Regions from separate parts of the Homo sapiens genome. Here region 1 is linked to region 2. The links are contacts of gene promoters, found by promoter capture Hi-C in blood cells and fetal thymus (Javierre and others, 2016). All regions are on one chromosome and are shown on one strand. The core of a region is centred on a gene start or on the middle of the fragment in contact, and the rest is flanking DNA. Distances in the headings are between cores, read along the strand shown.

What was found. Contacts are between HindIII fragments. The CHiCAGO score rates a contact against its expected background, and 5 or more counts as called.
Region 1: a contact is called between a fragment that was not itself captured here and the fragment with the promoter of SGK2 in region 2, in 5 of 17 cell types (M1 macrophages, endothelial precursors, megakaryocytes and 2 more). The highest score is 6.8, in M1 macrophages.

The regions. Positions count from the first base shown.
Region 1 is chr20:44,061,969-44,065,033 of GRCh38, forward strand. It overlaps TOX2 (TOX high mobility group box family member 2), which reads left to right. Exons shown (of 9, transcript NM_001098797.2): 6 at 2,809-2,889. Among named protein-coding and RNA genes, the nearest start is that of JPH2, 120 kb to the right of the region's middle. The HindIII fragment of the contact is 7,560 bases long and covers 1-3,065 here.
Region 2 is chr20:43,556,854-43,560,394 of GRCh38, forward strand. SGK2 (serum/glucocorticoid regulated kinase 2) reads left to right here and starts at 2,174. Exons shown (of 13, transcript NM_170693.3): 1 at 2,174-2,306. The HindIII fragment of the contact is 1,890 bases long and covers 1,434-3,323 here.

The sequences.
Region 1 (3,065 bases), core at 232-2,731, 500 kb after region 2:
CATACCTTAAGGTAATAAAAGCCATCTATGATAAATCCAGAGCCAACATTACACTGAATGGGGAAAAGTTGAAAGCATTCCCCCTGAGAACTAGAACAAGACAAGGATGCCCATTTATTCGATGCAGTACTGGAAGTCCTGGCCAGAGCAATCAGACAAGAGAAAGAAATAAAGGGCACCAAATCAGTAAAGAGGAAGTCAAACTGTCACTGTTTGCTGATGGGATTATCATATACCTAGAAAACCCTAAAGACTCATCCAAAAAGCTCCTAGAACTGGTAAATGAATTCAGCAAAGTTTCAAGATACAAAATTAATGTACACAAATCAATAGATCTGCTATACACCAACAGTGACCAAGCTGAGAATCACATCAAGAACTCAACCCCCTTTAACTGCAAAATAAATAAATAAATAAATAAATAAATAAATAAATAAATGAATAAATAAAATACTTAGGAATATACCTAACCAAGGAGGTGGAAGACCTCTACAAGGAAAACTACAAAACACTGCTGAAAGAAATCGTAGATGAAACAAATGGAAACACATCCCATGCTCATGGATGGGTAGAATCAATAGTGTGAAAATGACCATACTGCCAAAAGCAATCTATAAATTAAATGCAATTCCCATCAAAACACCACCAACATTCTTCACAGAACTAGAAAAAACAATCCTAAAATTCATGTGGAATCAAAAAAGAGCCCTCATAGCCAAAGCATGACTAAGCAAAAAGAACAAATCTGGAGGCATCACATTACCCGACTTCAAACTATATGGCCATAGTCACCAAAACAGCATGGTACTGGTATAAAAATAGGCATATAGACCATGGAAAAGATTAGAGAACCCAGATATAAAGCCAAATCCTTACAACCAACTGATCTTTAACAAAGCAAACAATAACATGAAGTGGGGAAAGGACACCTTATTCAACAAATGGTGCTTGGATAATTGGCAAGCCACATGTAGAAGAGTGAAACTGGATCCTCATCTCTCACCTTATACAAAAATCAACTCAAAATGGATGGAAGACTTAAATCTAAGACCTGAAACCCTAAAAATTCTAGAAGATAACACTGGAAAAACCCTTCCACAGACATTGGCTTAGGCAAAGACTTCATGACCAAGAACCCAAAAGCAAATGCAACAAAAACAAAGGTAAATAGATGGGACTTAATTAAACTAAAAAGCTGCACAGCAAAAGAACCAGCAGGGTAAACAGACAACCCACAGAGTGGGAGAAAATCTTCACAATCTATACTTTCGACAAAGGACTAATATCCAGAATCTACAAAGGAACTCAAATCAGCAAGAAAAAAACAATCCCATCAAAAATTGGGCTAAGGAGATGAATAGAGAATTCTCAAAAGAAAATATACAAATGGCCAACAAACATATTAAAAAATACTTAACATCATTATGATCAGGGAAATGCAAATCAAAACCACCTTACTCCTGCAAGAATGTCCATAATCAAAAAATAGATGTTGGCATGGATGTGGCAAAAAGGGAACACTTTTACACTGTTGGTGGGAATATAAACTAGTACATCCACTGTGAAAAACAGTGTGGAAATTCCCCAAAGAACTAAAAGTAGATCTACTGTTTGACCCAGCAATCCCACTGCTTGGTATCCACCCAGAGGAGAAGAAATTTTACAAAAAAGATACTTGCACATGTTTGTAGCAGCCCAATTTGCAATTGCAAAAATATGGAACCAGCCCAAATGCCCATCAATCAATGAGTAAAGAAAATGTGCTACATATATATACACACATATATATGTACACACACACACATATACATATATATGTACACACACACACACACAAACACCATGAAATACTACTCAGCCATAAAAAGGAAGGAAATAATGGCATTTGCAGCAACCTGGATGGAATTGGAGACAATTATTCTAAGTGAAGTAACTCAGGAATGGAAAACCAAACATTGTATGTTCTCATAAGTGGGAACTAAGCTATGAGGACACAAAGGCATAAGAATGATACAATGGACTTTGGGGACTTGGGGAAAAGGATGGTAGTGAAGGATAAAAGACTATCATCAGGTACAGTGTACACTGCTCAGGTGGTAGGTTCACCAACATCTCAGAAATCACCATTAAAGAACTTATTCATATACAAAAAAAATTTTTAAATAAGAGTTCCAAGAGTAGCAAGAGGGCTCACCAATATGTGATCACTTTGTCAGTCTCTGCATGCATCACATTTGTGCTTGTCTTATTGGCCAACACAAGTCACACAAGGCTAAGCTCCAAGTCATTTGCACCTCCTCGTTTCTACCAAAAGCCATGGAAACAAGGAGGTGCGAACAAACTGGGACCAGTCCTACAATAACATATGAACCTAGGTCTAAAATTTTTAATAAAAAATATTAGCAAACCGAATCCAAACTAACATACTATGAACAAGTAGGTTCATTCTAGGTTGCGAAGGTGGTTCGGCATTAAGAAATCTGCACTGTGCTGGCTCAGAATGGGGGCTTCAAAGGGCATTGTCTTTCTGTGATCAGTTGTGCTGATAGAACCTGGAGGCCCAGAGAGATGAAGCATGTTGGCCAAGGCCACACAGTGACTTGGCTGAGGAACTGGGATATGGCCTGGTCTCCACAATTTCTCTGCAGCGCTCCCAGAAAGGGGCCAGTGGCTGGCTGACTCAGCTTCTGACCCCACCACCCTCGTCCATTCGTGATCCTTGAATCCATGCCTTCCCACCCCAGGACCCTGCACGGCATCTCCTCTGTAACTTTCTCCCCAGTGTTGCTCATGTGTTGACTCTTCCAGGCCTACAAGAGGAAGACAGAAGCAGCAAAGAAGGAATATCTGAAGGCCCTGGCAGCCTACCGGGCTAGCCTCGTCTCCAAGGTAACACCCGGAATCTCCAGGCACAGCCCTGATCAGAGTGGGGCCACTTGAGGAATGGAGCAAGAACTGGGGCCCGTGGGAAGGGCCGGCACCCCAGGTCTTAGAAAGAATGGCTCAGACCTACATGGTCATGTCTGCAGGGCACCTACAGCATGCCAGGCTCATTCTGGGCACTT
Region 2 (3,541 bases), core at 924-3,423:
GCAGCCTTGTTGGAAATATTGTGAAACTGCTAACAGTCAAAATGTCCATCAGAAGGAACAGTAAATAGGGAATAGGGGTTGTGAAAACTCCACACTATGAAGTGTGGTGCAGCTGCTTAAAAGATGTATATATGAAAAAAAGTGAATTACTGATGGCCCATTTTCTGGAAAAAAAATGGATGCAGTTATATAGATTAATACATATAGATTAAGATTAATATACATATAGATTAAGACATAGACAAAAATCTGGAAGGATTGTCACCCTTTTTTTTTTTTTTTTGAGATGGAGTCTTGCTCTGCTGCCCAGGCTGGAGTGCAGTGGCATGATCTTGGCTCACTGAAAGCTGCATCTCCCAGGTTCATGCCATTCTCCTGCCTCAGCCTCCCGAGTAGCTGGGACTACAGGCACTCGCCACCACGCCTGGCTAACTTTTTGTATTTTTAGTAGAGATGGGGTTTCACCATGTTAGCCAGGATGGTCTCGATCTCCTGACCTCGTGATCCACCCACCTCAGCCTCCCAAAGTGCTGGGATTACAGGCATTAGCCATGGCGCCCAGCCGGATTGTCACCCTTTAGTTAACAGCAGCTGCCTCTGGAAATGAGATTGAAGATGGGCTGGAGGGAAAGCTTTTACTTTTTATTTGACATTCTTCTGTAAGTTGGAATTATTTGATACACTTTATGCAACCAATACCAGTATGTGGCGTGTTTGGGGGTTTTTTAAGCAGCTCTGGAAGAGCAGAGGAGAGGGAGCTTGGTGGCACAGCAGCAGCAGCAGCAGGAGCTCTGGAAAGGGCAGGACCTTGTGCGCTGCCCTGATTTGCTCTGTGCACTTGGGCCAGCTACCTCCCCTATCTGGACCAGGGCCAGACACATGCTGCTATGTGTGTTGGTGGAGGTGGGGTGTGTGGCCATGCAGGGCTCCTCCGGAGCACAGCAGAGCAGCCGGTGTTTAAGGCACCAGAATTACCAGAAAGTTGTTGACATTTTAATGGAAAGGCAATGGAGGAAGCAGTGTGAAAGTCAGCCTGCTCAGGAGGGGTCACTGGGCAGAGCTTTCCTTACCTGTCCAGGGGTCCAGGCCCTGCCTGTGCCCTGAGTTAGAACCCAGGGCCGGCCAGGCGCGGTGGCTCACGCCTGTAATCCCAGCACTTTGGGAGGCCGAGGCGGGCAGATCACAAGGTCAGGAGATCGATACCGTCCTGGCTAATGCAGTGAAACCCCATCTCTACTAAAAATACAAAAATTAGCTGGGCGTGGTGGTGGGCGCCTGTAGTCCCAGCTACTCGGGAGGTTGAGGCCGGAGAATGGCGTGAACCTGGGAGGCGGAGCTTGCAGTGAGCTGAGATCACGCCACTGCACTCCAGCCTGGGTGACAGAGCGAGACTCTGTCTCAAAGAAAAAAAAAAAAGAACCCAGGGCCTGGGAAGCTTTGGGTCAACCCCCGAGAAAGCCTTCCCTGTTCTCCAGGGTGAACTCATCTCTGGTTCCTGAGCCTCAAATCTCTGAAGGGCAGAGTGGGGCATAGGTTTCAACTCAGCTGTGATTCTCCCAGAACGGTGCCAGGGCAGTGCTTGGTCGGGTAGGCTGTGGGTGGCAGTCTTCGGCTTAACACAAGAAATTGCCAGAGGCTGGCTCAGGGGGAAATGAGCTGCCCAGTCCTGGAAGTTTCCATGAAATGACTGAACATAGGGGCTGGTGGCCCCCATTAGGGAAGGGGTGGAGGAGGGTGTTGTGTGAGACCAACCTTTCAGTTGCTGGTTCACTAGGTTCCAAGCGAAAGGGAAGATGACTCAGCGGAGGGAATCAGGGAAGGCTGTGTAGGAGTCAGCACTTAAGCTGGACCTTGAGAGAGTGCGGCAGTTCCAGTGTTGAAAGGGACTTCAGAAACCGTCCCTCCAGCAGGACACACCATCCGTCACCAATTCACATGAGGCTCAGGGAGCTGAAGTCAGTTGCCCATGGTCACATAACAAGTTGTGCTTTAAAAAATTCAGAGAGTCCCCCAGGCAGGGCCCATCCAGGAGCCAGTGTGTGCAGCCAGCTTGGTAATTCAGGTCCAGTGGTTAATTAGTAACTGGAAGGCCCCGAAGCCAGCTTCCAGCAGGCAGGGCTGGGAGGTTGAACTTGAGCCGGTTTGGGAGCCAGGAGCGAGTGGGTGACAGGTCATTCCTGACTGGGAAGGTTGCTTGACAAGTCAGGATTGTGCCTCCAGTCAGAAGGACCATGAAGAGAGAGAAGAGGGCAGAGCCGTGCATGGGGCTGCTCCCCAGGACCTGAGCAGGAACCTGGAGTTTTCAGGTGAGAGGCTCACCTGTGAGCAGGATACCTGCCTGCTCGCCTATTGGTCTCCAGATTGACTAGTTACCTAGCTAACATCTTTCCTAGTACCTGTTTACTTTCTTTCCTTCCTTTCTTCCTTGGCGACTTCTTTCCCTTCTCCCTCCTTCCTTTCCTTCCTTCCCTCCCAACTATCTGCTTTCTCAGCTGCCTAATTTTCTTCCTCCTTAACTAACCAACTTACATCCTCACTTCCTTCCCACTGACTTCATTTTTTCCTTTTCTAGCTTTCTATTGTCTTCCTGAAATTCCAGGCCGTGGGCTTTGCAGTCAGATGGCCTGGGTTCAAATCCTGGTTATGTCATTTATTAACTGTCTTGATCATGTCACTTCCCTGTCCTTGCCTCAGTTTTCTCCTCCTTGAAACAGGGACGATGATAGTTCCTAACCCGTGGGGTTGTGGGAACAAAATAAGATCAAGTTGGCACTTGAACTGGGCAGGCGTGTAAATGAACAAGTTACAGTGAAGACAGGGACAGCAGCAGGAGAGGGTGCATGGGATCGGAGGGTCATCTGGCTTCCAGGAAAGGCAATGAGAACAGGTGAAAAGGTGAGCTGGAAAGACCAGGTTTGTTGGGGAATGTTCCAAGGAGAGAGAACTGTGTGACACTGTCCCACCCCCACACCCCATTTGGCAGGGCCAGGGAGCTGTAAGCAGGTCCATGTAACAGTGGGACAGAGGGAGGCAAGTCTGGGCTGTGGCAAGTTAGGAAAGGGACAGGCTTGAGGACTCATGGAGGGGCTTGAGTGGGAGTTTGCGGAGTCTGAAGAGTTAGGAGAATATATTGATGTCCAGCTTCTGGCCAGAAAATTAGAACACCGTGGTGCGAGAGAGAAGAAAGCCTTAGGAACTGAGGGCTGCTTAGGCATGGGGGTCACAGTCAAGGTGATGGGGGAGGGTGTGATGGGCCATGGGCATGCCAGGTTCCCACCAGGAACTCAGTACTTGAATATTAACTCAACAGCAATATCTTGAGAAGCTTTACACAATAGTACAAAGATAAAAGTTAAAATAACCGGCCGGGTACAGTGGCTCACACCCGTAATCCTAACACTTTGGGAGGCCGAGGCAGGCGGATCACCTGAGGTCAGGAGTTTGAGACCAGCCTAGCCAACATGGTGGAACCTCGTCTCGACTAAAAATACAAAAATTAGCCGAGCGTCGTGACACATGCCCGTAATCCCAGCTATTTGGG